Linked DNA regions of Homo sapiens: region 2 is linked to region 1. The links are contacts of gene promoters, found by promoter capture Hi-C in human tissues and cell types (Jung and others, 2019). All regions are on one chromosome and are shown on one strand. The core of a region is centred on a gene start or on the middle of the fragment in contact, and the rest is flanking DNA. Distances in the headings are between cores, read along the strand shown.

Evidence for each region. Contacts are between HindIII fragments. The study calls those that stand out against the background at their distance.
Region 2: a contact is called between a fragment that was not itself captured here and the fragment with the promoter of ANKRD31 in region 1, in 1 of the 25 tissues and cell types used here (spleen).

The regions. Positions count from the first base shown.
Region 1 is chr5:75,234,015-75,240,983 of GRCh38, reverse strand. It overlaps ANKRD31 (ankyrin repeat domain 31), which reads left to right and starts at 4,106. Exons shown (of 26, transcript NM_001372053.1): 1 at 4,106-4,401. The coding sequence starts at 4,298. LOC124901006 (a long non-coding RNA gene) reads right to left here and starts at 3,946. Exons shown (of 2, transcript XR_007058823.1): 1 at 3,618-3,946; 2 at 96-247. RefSeq lists a silencer at 3,866-4,165 and an enhancer at 4,216-4,385. The HindIII fragment of the contact is 20,855 bases long and covers 1-6,969 here.
Region 2 is chr5:75,561,457-75,568,425 of GRCh38, reverse strand. The region is part of intron 3 of POLK (DNA polymerase kappa); the gene reads right to left. Among named protein-coding and RNA genes, the nearest start is that of ANKDD1B, 47 kb to the left of the region's middle. RefSeq lists enhancers at 1,373-1,452, 1,473-1,692, 1,647-2,846. The HindIII fragment of the contact is 3,553 bases long and covers 1,108-4,660 here.

The DNA.
Region 1 (6,969 bases), core at 2,857-5,356:
CCATCTCTGCCTCCCGAAGTGCTGGGATTACAAACATGAACCATTGTGCCCTGTCGGGAAAGTGTATTTTAAAATACTTATCATGGAATACTTGGTGAAATACTTCATATAGTTTTATTTTGGGGAGAAATATTACTAAGGTGAAAGTGGCTGCTGGATTTAGTCTCTTAGAGATTCATATTGTGTTATGATAAATCAAATCTTCCATGAAAGTCTCATCTCTTACAGTTCTAGGATCCAAAGTAACCTGGATAGGAAATAAATAATATGAAGCTATAGGCAGCGAAGAATCTTAATTATAAAAGCAAAATATATTGTGTAATCACAAAATAATGAGCCTTCTTTTTCTTTTTAAACATCAAAAAAAAATTTTAAATTCACCTTTACAACAATAATTCCCCAAGAGGACATTTTTCTTGTAAGATTATAGCCCAAATGGAGTAGACCAAGTAAAATTTAATTACATTTCTTAAAAATTATGGCCAGGCGTGGTGGCTGAAGCTTGTAATCCCAGCACTATGGGAGGCCGAGGTGGGTGAATCACCTGAGGTCAGGAGTTCGAGGCCAGCCTGACCAACATGGAGAAACCCCGTCTCTACTAAAAATACAAAATTAGCCGGGTGAGGTGGCACATATCTGTAATCCCAGCTCCTTGGGAGGCTGAGGCAGGAGAATCACTTGAACCCGGGAGGTGGGAGGTTGCAGCGAGCCAAGATCGCGCCATAGCACTCCAGCCTGGACGACAAGAGCGAAACTCCGTCTCAAAAAAAAATTTTTTTTCCCCCTCATTAACTATGGTTATTCTGAATATAAAGTGTATAGGAGAGGCAGGATAAAGTCTTTTTATCGTTATTAATTTTAGAATAATAAATGGTGTCTAGCAACCTCCAAAAGTAGCCAATTATTATTTTTTAATAATAATGTTTACAGATTTTTACATACTCGGCGATGTTTTAATCTATTTGAAAATTCAAACTAATTCAAAAGAAAGCTGAGCTCTATTTCCTTTGAAACACAGTTGCAGTACCTGATTCCTGCCATTCCTGAAATACCTGGGAAACCTCTCCTTGGTTCAATTACATGACTCAACTCACCCTGCTTAAACCAGTATGAATTGTACTGCAGCCTAGATTTCCTAAAACAGATCTTCTGTTCATTTTTCCACCTCTGTCCTGCACTGAAACTTTGGATTTCATAAAAACAAACAAAAAAAGGTTTATTTAAAATCACACTGGCATTTATGAGGCTCATCTCTGCCATTTCTTTTTCATTCTTTGAATCTTAGCAACTCTCTTAAATAAAAGGAGAACAGATGATGCAAAAATAACTGACTTTTTCCCGCCAAAAGAGAAAGCATTTTTAAAAAGAATGTGAATTTCAGGCCCAGAAGAATGTGAATTTATCTATAGCAGATCCTCGAATAACATTTATTTCAATGGTGTTTCAACACTGATGAGGGAAGAAAATTATTATACTTCCCAGCCAGGGCCACTGTGTATGTGGAGTTTGCATGTTCTCCCTATGTCAGCATGTTTCCTCCAGGTATTCTGGTTTCCTCTCACATCCCAAAGATGTGTATGTTAGGCTCATTGACTTATCTAACTGGTCTCAGAATGAGTGTGTGTGTGTGAGTGAGCACGCTCTTCAATGAAATGGCCTCCTGTGCTGGGTTGGCTCCTGCCTTGAGCCCTGAGCTGCCAGGATAGGCTCCAGCCACTCTCAACCCTGAACTGGAATGACTAGGTAAATAATTATCTTATTTGTTTTTATTAGTCTTTCTTAAATATATATATTTTTATTAATCTTTCTTAAATATATATGACATTTCTTATATATATTTATTAAATATATATTAAATATATTAAGAAATATCTTAAATATATATCTTAGATATTTATTATATATATTAAATATATTAAGAAATATCTTAAATATATATCTTAGATATTTATTAAATATATTAAATATTTATTATTAAATATATATTTAATAAATATCTGATATATATTTAAGATATTTCTTAAATATATATATTTAATAAATATATATATAGCTCACGTTTATTTCAATGTTTAATAGTAAAGGTGTTTTGGTGTTTATTTACAAGTTTGGTAATGTTTTTGTGACCAGAAATATGTTGTAAGAACTTAACTCTCATATATATCAATTAGACAATGGTAAAATTGGTTTCCTTGTAAGTCATTTTGTTTTAGGTTGCAGTTTCCAAGACCCTACCGACAGACATTAAGTGAGGACTTATTGCACTTAGCTTGTTACCAGCTGTTTGGAGCAAGTACTGTTACTAGTGGAGTCATCTTTCCCTCTGGGGCAAATGGAGCCACTCACCACCATTTACTGGGTATGCATCCCCCAATTCCTGTGAAAGCAGAGTTGGATAATTAAAAGAATGGGTGAAGTGGGCATAGTGGCATGAGATTGTAGTTCCGGCTATTTGGGAGGGTGAGGTGGGAGGACAGCTTGAGCCCAGGAGTTGGAGATTAGCTTGGGCAACACAGAAGAATGCGCTAATGAATTAATTAAACAGTGGGTGAGCAGGAAAGGTGATAGGAATTTAGGTCTGATTTAGACACGGAGGGTATAAATGGACTACTGTTAAAAAAAATAAAAAAGAGGTCTAGTTCTTTGCATATTTATTATTGCTCTGCCTAATTTACAGAGTTGAGGCGAGGAATTTTATTTAAGTAAGTTACTTATTCAAGTAAGTTTATTTTTTTATTTTTTGAGACATGGTATGACTCTGTTGCTCAGGCTGGAGTGCGTTTGCTCAATCATAGCTCATTATAACCTCAAACTCCTGGGCTCAAGCGATCCTCCCGCCTCAACCTGAGTAGCTGGGACTACAGGCCCATGCTACCATGCCCTGCTAATTAAAAACAAATTTTTTGCAGAGATAGGGGTCTCACCATGTTGCCCAGGCTGGTCTTGAACTTCTGGTCTCAAGCAATCCTCCTGCCTCGGCCTCCAATGCATTGAGGTTACAGGTAGAGCCACCACCCCCAGCCTCAAGTTAAGTTTAGAAGATAATCACCAATCAAGCATTTTAAATAGCAGTGGCTTGAATATACATAGTAAAAACACAAAATAATAATAATGATAATAATGGCAAAGCTACTCCATATAGTGAAAAGGGCAATGAATTGGGAAGTCAGAAATCTCTAGCTCCATCCATTTATGACAAAACTTAGACTTTATATGTGCTAGATGCTGGAGACTCCAAGGTGAATACTAAACACTTGCTATGGGAAAACAACTTGGTCTTTTCTTGAATCTTCTTCTCACTTGGCAAGTGGAAGCTCACTTGGCTTTGTTTTGAATTAGTTTGAATTAAAAATGTTCAACTAGACTGAAACACATCAAATATATAAAATTCTAGTACTTCATTAAAACGCAATTGACTACTTTTGGAGGTTGCTAGGCATTACTATTATTATAAAAATTGATAAAAGAGGAAAAAATAAAGCATTTATCCTGCCTTTCCTGCATAATCTGTATTTCAGGTAACCAAAGCGTTGTTGAGAGAAAAAAAAAATGCAAAATACATCACTGAGATTAGTTGATGAGCTAAAACTTCTGATAAACGTATCTGTTTTGTCTACCTCAGAGGACACTTGAGGAGAGGCTGTCAAGGGATTAAAGGGAAAGGAAGCACTTGGTGGGCTGCAAAAACTCTCTTTAGGTCTAAGGTCGCATTCTGGCTCCAGAATGCCAGGGCTGCTGGGGCGGGCAGGAGCTGACAGCTCTTCCCGTATCTGGGGCTCACAAGCATCAGGTGCATGGCAGGTCACCCTCCCGGCCAAGGGTGTTAAGCAGGCTCGGTCTGAGTTCTGGGTGCGCCACGCCTGCCTTTCTGGTCTCTGCAGCAGCAACCCCAGCACCCTCAAAGCCTAGCGACCGAGAATGAGAAACCGTGAAAAAAACACGCAGCGGCAGGCCACGCCCAGAGTAGGCCTGCGCGCGCGCGCGCGGCCTCCCACTTCCGGCCACGGGAGCTGGGGGCGGGGCCGAGCGCTGCGCAGGGCTCCGTCGTGTGGCGAGCGGCTGCCCCCTGTCTGCGACGAGCGGCGGGACCCGCGGGCCGCCTCGCAGACTGCTACCCCGCCGCGCTCGCGGCCGCCTGCGTCCTCCTCAGCAGCCCTGCGACAAGTCCCGGCTCCTGCTGCGATTATATTATTTTTATTTTTAATTCACAATTTCCCCTGGCCCTCAAAGCGTTTTTTTGTTTGCGGGCAAGAGGGAGTTAGAGGAGGGTAAAAAAGACTTTGAATGTGAGGCAAAGATGGAGGAAGGCGTCCAGGCCCCAGACTGGGACAGTGATGAAACTGTGATAGAGGGTTCAGTGACGGAGAGCGACCTGGAAGAAAAGGAGCTGCCCTGGAGAAGGTGACCATCATTAGGGCCACAGTGCCTGAACCCTCGCGCCAGGGCGGCCCAGGTGCCCTCTGAGGGGGTCAGAGTTTTGAGTGGAGATCGTGACCAGAACATGTGCTTGTGGGCAGGATCAGAGCCTTGTGGGGCAGCCGTGCCTGAGCTGAGAGCTTGTAAATAAGCAAACACAGTCTGTTCCCACCTACCCCCAACCAGCTAGGGATAAAATGAGGTTTGTACTAGGTGGCTTTATAGCATTTTTCAAAAGGCTTTCCTTTTGGGGGCTTTAAGTCTTTTTGCACAAGCAAAAAAGATCTTGGGTCTGAACTTAACTGCATTTTGTTTCAGGAGACTTCATTTTGCTTCAAGAGACTCGTAGCTCAGTTCTAGGAAAATGGGTAACAGTTTCTCTCAAGAAAAGAATGTGTGATGGGGAAACTGGTCCCTGCCAAACTGGAAACGAATAGTTTTATACGAATCCAAAAAAGTCGGTATTTCAGGTTATCGAAACCTTTCTCTAACATATTCTCTGTGCTAGACACAGGGAAAAGAGGGCAGGGATGAGGCCACTAGGTCTGCTTCATATGTGCTCAGGGCTGTGTCTGGGACTTAAGTTGGATCGTACACAGAATTAGGTCATTCTCCTTTCCCTCTCTCTCTTCTCCAGGATTCTCCTGCCCCCTTTCCTCATCATACCCACTTGCCAGTTCATATGATCAGAAAGACAGGTTTCTTTGAGTGTTAGCCTTTTCACTATACAGCAGTTCCTTACAAGGGGGACAGCCTTTAGCACAGAGTTAAGAAAAGAGAGAAAAAAGGGGGATTCTGTCCACACTTTTCAGGCAATACCGATCCCTTTTCCCAGTTCCTCTGGTAGACACTTTCTCTTGAGTTTTATGTTCCCCAGTTGCCATGGTTGGTGTCTGCTCTGAGGCTAGGGCCAGCCTTGGGGCAGGGCTGGGAGGTGAGAGAGAAAGCAACATAAAGCCCTGGGCTTTGTCCTATACCTTCTGGCATGCAGGGGTCATTTTCCTTGGTCTTCTGGATAAAAATAGGTTTACTGTCTGTGCCCACTGGATGGTTCAAAGCTGAAAGACAAAAAAGAACCAAAAAACCGAAAACAAACTGAAACTCGTCAATAAATGGGTTGTTATTAAGATTTCAACTTCAGTCCCCAATCTACCTGCTATTGTTTACTTTTCAAGGTTCTCGAGTAGTTTTTAAAAAATATTCATTCGGAGTTTTTGGTTGTAATGAGAAACAGGCAGAGGTTGCTATGAGCCAAAATGACTCCACTGCACTCCAGCCTGGGCGACAGAGTGAGACTCTATCTCAAAAAAAAAAAAAAAAAAAAAAGTACCAGCAAGACTTTCTGTTGAACTAGACAACTGATTCCAAAGTTTATATCGTAAAATAAATAAGAGCAATTAGGAAAAGTCTGAAAAATAAGAACAATAAGGAGGTAATGACCTATAGGATATTAAAATATTTTCTGATATAAAATATTTTAAATATGATACTGGCACATAAAGTGACAGATCAATAAACAGCATAAAAACCCCCAAAATAGAATCACATACATATGGGAATTTAGTGTATTACAGAGGTGGCATCTCAAACCAGCGAGGAAATGATGGGATTTTTCAAAAAATGATATTGGGATGATGAAGGATGTATGTAGAAAATAGTTTAGTTGAATCCATATTTCACACTGTACTCCAAAAAAATTCCATATGAATCAAAGATGTAAATGTTAAAAAAAAACCAAAAAGTATTACAAGAAGCCAAAAAGGGATTCTTTTATAACTGTAGAGGAAGAAAGATATAATTATAATACAAAACTCAAAAAATTTCAATTATCAAGATTACAAACACATATACTCTTTGACACAGTGCTTCTGTTTTTAGAAAATAGTGTTACCTCTGTCTTCCAACATATATACACTTAGAAAATATCTCTGAAAGAATTACAAAACAATCAAACACCTTGGTTGCCTGTGGGAAAGAAAGCTTATATTTGAGGGGACAGAGAGATATTTTACTACATACCCTATTATATTGTTTGTTTTGGAGACTGGATCTTACACTATTGTCCAGTCTGGAATGCAATAGTGCAGTCATAGCTCACTGAAGCCTCTAACTCCTAGGCTGAAGTGATCTTCCTGCCTCAGCTCCCTGAGTAGTGAGGACTATGAGCATGAGTAATCAGGGCTAGTCTATACTGGTTTTTGAATTTTGAACCATATAAATATATTGTCTATTCAGGAACACTATAGGAAACATGAGCAATAAAAAGAAGCATGAATGAGATAGAAATCTGACCTAATTCTACTTGTATTAAGACTTTGGTATATTTTCTTCCAGCTTTCTATGTAGGCTTTTGTGTGTGCACCTATAATTCTTTTACAAAGTTTGAATCAATTTGTACAAGTTTACAGTTTTCGCTTAACATTATTTTTAAACATTTGCAATGTCATTAAAATTCTTCCCTAAATTATTGATAGTTTTCTGTCATAAAGGGATAATTTGTTGAAGCATTATATGATTTTAAAACAAAACATTTAGTTTGTTTTTAATTTTTTG
Region 2 (6,969 bases), core at 1,635-4,134, 330 kb before region 1:
TCAAGGCAAGAAAGGCTAAATACTCACTTTCCCAGCTTACCCTGCAGCTGGAGGTGGCTGTGTAATAGTTGTGATCTATGCAACATAGGGAAGTTACCAAGACCATTAAAGTAAAAATCATAAGAAAGCTATTAAATAAGCTGGAAAATATACAGAACATAGAACAGTACCTGGTACATGGCACAAGTTCAATAAATACATCTATTACTAAAAGGATCAATGGATAGCTGCATAATAAAACATTAAAAACTGAGAGAAAAACAGCCAGCAATGAGCAAGTGGGGTCATCTATGGAACGTGGAGTTCCCTCTAGCAAGTTTTCTCAAAGGTGGAGAGCTATAGGTGTATATGTGGCTTTTTCCCTCATGTTGTACTCCAGCTTTGCCTCCACTCTGCAGAATTTTTTTTATGTCCTTCCTTCTTAGTCTTACTGTGACACTAGCTGCCCACTAGTCGCAGGTTAAAACTATAACTCCTCTTTTAGAAGCAATCACCCTGACTCATGTTTGTCTACAGGAGGTACAGTGAAATCTGTAGGAGGCTTCCCCTTGTTTAGGCTACAGCTCACTGAATGACCTGGGTTGCTCTATGCCTTCCTCAGGCTGTTCCTCTGTCTAGAGTGCCTTTCCAAGCTCTGTCACAAGCCTTCAAGGATCAGCTGAAATATCTCTTCGTATCTTAATGGAATGTCTGTCCTCTGTGCCACAGAATTTAATGTTCCTTGCTTTCCTGCTCTTGCATGGCACTTACTGTATTAGATACTAAATTGTCAGTTCCTTCAGGAGAAAGACCTTATCTGATTTCAAATTATTTTCTCACAAGAGAGACGGGGAGGGGAGACTAGAAGGAGAAAAATAATGAATTTATAGCAGTATATTAAAGTTGGTTTAAAAAGTGAAAGGAGTACTAGTAGAAAAATCTTGAAGAAGGCTAACTTCTTACAGTAAAATCCCATACCTAATAAATGGAACCTTTCAATATTACCAAAATTTAACATGCTAATTAAAACCTACTTCTTTTAGTACCTCAATTCTGAACCAGAGAATAGCACCATGACCACATATAAACAAATTATGGAGATTAACAAAAACAAATGTAAACTAAAAACTACTCTATTTTAATCCAGAAAATATACCTAAGAAATAACAGTCAAATGAGAATAAGAAAGTGGCATCTGAAATACTTGGACATGGAATCATCTAGAAAAGAAAAAGATAATAAATAGAAAGCAAGTCAAATGGGAAAAAATTCTCCTCAGACTCATATATTAATGCTATAATAATGTCTTCAGCAAGCTATTCTCTTTTTTTGTGCTTAAAGCAAGTGTAGTTGCCAAAAGGAAACCTCTCCACTGCATGACTCATACATTCCACTTTCCTTTACTATCTCTCATTAGTCACCCTTGTCTGAACTCTTTTCTTTCTACATCAACCAGATGCATGCCACTACTGCTTTTAAAAGTTTCTTCAACTGAAATCCCCATTCATATTGTCCTTTCTTCCATTTTCCAATGACTTTCAAGTTCTGATCTGAGTCTCCAACATGCACGTTGTTCCTTTTGCTACTGCTCAAAACTGGTGTGTGTCACACTCGTTAAGAATAACGGCTTCGGGGATTCCCGGGTAAGATGGCTGCAGCTCCCAGTGAGACCAAGGCAGAAGGCAGGTGATTTCTGCATTTCCAACTGAGGTACCCGGCTCACCTCACTGGGACTGATTAGAAAGTGGGTGCAGGCCACGAAAGGCTAGGAGAAGCAGGGTGGGGTGTCACCTCACCTGGGAAGCACAAGGGGTCTGGGAACTCCCTCCCCTAGCCAAGGGAAGCCGTGAGGGACTGTGCCGTTGGTGAGGGATGGTGCTATCCAGCCTAGATATTACGCTTTTCCCACTGTCTTCACAACCTGGAGACCAGGAGATTTCACGGGGTGCCTACACAACCAGGGCCCTGGGTTTCAAGCACAAAACTGGGCGGCCATTTGGGCAGACACTGAGCTAGCTGCAGGAGTTTTTTTTCATACCCCAGTGGTGCCTGAACGCCAGAGAGACAGAACCGTTCATTCCCTGGGAAACGGGGCTGAAGCCAGGGAGCTGAGTGGTCTGGCTCAGCGGATCCCACGCCCACGGAGCCCAGCAAGCTAAGATCCACTGGCTTGAAATTCTCGCTGCTGGCAGAGCAGTCTGAAGTTGACCTGGGACACTCCAGCTTGGTGAAGGGAGGTGCGTCATCCATTACTGAGGCCTGAGTAGGTGGTTTTCCCCTCACAGTGTAAACAAACCCAGTGGGAAGTTCGAACTGGGTGGAACCCACCACAGCTTGGCAAGGCCACTGTAGCCAGACTGCCTTCCTAGATTCCTCCTCTCTGGGCAGGGCATCTCTGAAAGAAAGGCCACAACCCCAGTCAGGGGCTTATTGATAAAACTCCCATCTCCCTAGGACAGAGCACCAGGGGAAAGGGGCAGTTGTGGGCACAGCTTCAGCAGACTTAAACATTCCTGCCTGCTGGCTCTGAAGAGAGCAGCGGATCGCCCAGCACAGCGCTCAAGCTCTGCTAAGGAACAGACTGCCTCCTCAAGTGGGTGCCTGACCCCAATGCCTCCTGATGGCAGGGGTTGACAGACACCTCATACAGGAGAGCTCCAGCTGGCATCTGATGGTGCCCCTCTGGGATGAAGCTTCCAGAGGAAGGAACAGGCAGCAATCTTTGCTGTTCTGCAGCCTCCACTGGTGATACCCAGGCAAACAGGGTCTGGAGTAGACCTCCAGCAAACTCCAGCAGAACTTCAGAAGAGGGTCCTGCTAGAAGGAAAAATAACAAACAGAAAGCAACAGCATCAACATCAACAAAGAGGATAACCACGCAAAAACGCCATTCAAAGGTTACCAAAATCAAACACTAAAGGTAGATAAATCCACAAAGATGAGGAAAAAACAGTGCAAAAAGGCTGAAAATTCCAAATAACAGAACACCTCTGTTCCTCCAAAGAATCCCAACTTCATGCCAGCAAGGGAACAAAACTGGATGGAGAATGAGTTTGACAAATTGACAGAAGTAGGCTTCAGAAGGTGGGTAATAACAAAGTCCTCCGAGCTAAAGGAGCATATTCTAACCCAACACAAGGAAGCTAAGAACCTTGATAAAAGGTTACAGGAACTGCTAACTAGAATAACCAGTTTAGAGAAGAACATAAATGACCTGATGGAGCTGAAAAACACAGCACAAGAACTTCGGGAAGCATACACAAGTATCAATAGCTGAATTGATCAAGCGGAAGAAAGGATATCAGAGACTGAAGATCAACTTAATGAAATAAAACATGAAGACAAGGTTAGAGAAAAAAGAATAAAAGGAACAAACAAAGCCTCTTAGAAATATGGGACTATGTGAAAAGACCAAACCTACATTTGATTGGTGAAACTAAAACTGACAAGAAGAATGGAACCAAGTTGGAAAACACTCTTCAGGATATTATCCAGGAGAACTTCCCCAACCTAGCAAGAAACGCCAACACTCAAATTCAGGAAATACAAAGAAAAACACAAGATACTCCTCGAGAAGAGCAACCCCAAGACACATAATCATCAGATTCACCAAGGTTGAAATGAAGGAAAAAATGTTAAGGGCAGCCAGAGAGAAAGGTCAGGTTACAAAGGGAAGTCCATCAGAATAACGGCAGATCTCTCTGCAGAAACCCTACAAGCCAGAACAGAGTGGGGGCCAACATTCAACATTCTTAAAGAATTTTCAACCCAGAATTTCATATCCAGCTAAATTAAGCTTCATAAGTGAAGGAGAAATAAAATCCTTTACAGACAAGCAAATGCTGAGGAATTCTGTCACCACCAGGCCTGCCTTACAAGAGCTCCTGAAGGAAGCACTGAATATGGAAAGGAAAAACCGGTACCAGGCACTGCAAAAGCATACCAAAATGTAAAGACCACTGACACTTGAAGAACCTGTATCAACTAATGGGCAAAATAACCAGCTAGCATCATTATGACAGGATCAAAATAAATGCCCCAATTAAAAGACACAGACTGGCAAATTGGATAAAGAGTCAAGACCCATCAGTGTGCTCTATTCAGGAGACCCATCCCATGTGCAAAGACACACAACGGCTCAAAATAAAGACATGGAGGAAGATTTACCAAACAAAAAAGAAAGGAAAGAAAGAAAAGAAAGAAAGAAAGAAAGAAGAAAAAAAAGCAGGGGTTGCAATCCCAGTCTCCGATAAAACAGATTTTAAACCAACAAAGATGAAAAGAGACAAAGAAGGGCATTACATAATGGTAAAGGGATCAATGTAACAAGAAGAGCTAACTATCCTAAACATATATGCACCCAATGCAGTAGCACCCAGATTCATAAAGCAAGTTCTTAGAGACCTACAAAGAGACTTAGACTCCCACACAATAACAGTGGGAGACTTTAACACCCCACTGTCAACATTAGACAGATCAACGAGACAGAAAATTAACATGGATATTCAGGACTTGAACTCAGCTCTGGACCAAGCAGACCTAATAGACATCTACAGAACTTTCCACCCCAAATCAACAGGATATACATTCTTCTCAGCAACACATCGCAATTATTCTAAAATTGACCACATAATTGGAAGTAAAACACTCCTCAGCAAATGCAAAAGAACAGAAATCATAACAGTCTCTCAGACCACAGCGCAATCAAATTAGAACTCAGGATTAAGAAACTCACTCAAAATTGCACAACTACGTGGAAACTGAACAACCTGCTCATGAATGACTCCTGGATAAATATGAAATTAAGGCAGAAATAAGTAAGTTCTTTGAAATCAATAAGAGAACAAAGACACAATGTACCAGAATCTCTGGGACACAGCTAAAGCAGTGTTTAGAGGTAAATTTATAGCACTAAATGCCCATAGGAGAAAGCAGGAACGATCTAAAATCAACACCCTAACATCACAATTAAAATAATTAGAAAAGCAAGAGCAAACAAATTCAACAGCTAGCAGAAGACAAGAAATAACTGAGATCAGAGCAAAACTGAAGGAGATAGAGACACGAAAATCCCTTAAAAAAATCAATGAGTTCAGGAGCTGGTTTTTTTGAAAAGATTAACAAAATAAGCAGACTGCTAGCCAGACTACCAACCAAAAAAAAGTCCAGGACCAGACAGATTCACAGCCAGATACAGTGGCTCACGTCTGTAATCCCAGCACTTTGGGAGGCTGAAGCGGGCAGATCACCTGCGGTTGGGAGTTCAAGACCAGCCTGACCAACATGGAGAAACCCCACCTCTACTAAAAACACAACAATTCACAGCTGAATTCTACCAGAGGTACAAAGAGGAGCTGGTACCATTCCTTCTAAAACTATTCCAAACAACAGAAAAAGAGGGACTCCCCGCTAACTCATTTTATGAGGCCAGCATCATCCTGATACCAAAACCTGAGAGAGACACAACAACAACAAAAAAATTTCAGGCCAATATCCCTGATGAACATCAATGCGAAAATCCTCAATAAAATACTGGCAAACCAAATCCAGCAGTACATTAAAAAGCTTATCCAACGCAATCAAGTCAGCTTCATCCCTGGGATGTAAGGCTGGTTCAACATATGCAATTCAATAAACGTAATCCATCACATAAACAGAACCAATGACAAAAACTACATGATTATCTCAATGGATGCAGAAAAGACCTTGGATAAAATTCAACACCCCTTCATGCTAAAAACTCTCAATAAACTAGGTATTGATGGAACGTATCTCAAAATAATAAGAGCTATTTATTACAAACCCACAGCCAATATCATACTGAATGGACAAAAGCTGGAAGCATTCCCTTTGAAAACCAGCACTAGACAAGGATGTCCTCTCTCACCACTCCTATTCAACATAGTATTGGAAGTTCTGGTCAGGGCAATCAGGCAAGAGAAAGAAATAAAGGGTATTCAATTAGGAAGAGAGGGAGTCAAATTACCTCTGTTTGCAGGTGACATGATTGTATATTTAGAAAACCCCATTGTCTCAGCCCAAAAACTCCTTAAGCTGATAAGCAACTTCAGCAATGTCTCAGGATACCAAATCAATATGCAAAAATCACAAACTTTCCTATACACCAATAGACAAACAGAGAGCCAAATCATGAGTGAACTCTCACTCACAATTGCTACAAAGAGAATAAATAAAATACCTAGGAATACAAATTACAAGGGATGTGAAGGACCTCTTCAAGGAGAGCTACAAACCACTGCTCATGCAAATAAAGGAGGACACAAACAAATGGAAAAACATTCCATACTCATGGATGGGAAGAATCAATATGGTAAAAATGGCCATACTGCCCAAAGTAATTTATAGATTCAATGCTATTCCCATCAAGGTACCACTGACTTTCTTTACAGAATTAGAAAAAACTACTTTAAATTTCATATAGAACCAAAAAAAGAGCTTGTATAGCCAAGACAATCCTAAGCAAAAAGAACAAAGCTGGAGGCATCATGCTACCTGGCTTCAAACTATACCACAAGGCTATAGTAGCCAAAACAGCATGGTACTGGTAACAAAGCAGATATATAGACCAATAGAATAGAACAGAGGCCTCAGAAATAACACCACATATCTACAACCATCTGATCTTTGACAAACCTGACAAAAACAAGCAATGGGGAAAGGATTCCCTATTTAATAAATGGTGTTGGGAAAACTTGCTAGCCATATTCAGAAAACTGAAACTGGACCCCTTCCTTACACCTTATACAACAATTAACTCAAGATGGATTAAAGACTTAAATATAAGACCTAAAACCATAAAAACCCTAGAGGAAAACCTAGGCAATACCATTCAGGACACAGGCATGGGCAAAGACTTCATGACTAAAACACTGAAAGCAATTGCAACAAAAGCCAAAATTGACAAATGGGATCTAATTAAACTAAAGAGCTTCTGCACAGCAGAATAAACTATCAGCAGAGTGAACAGGC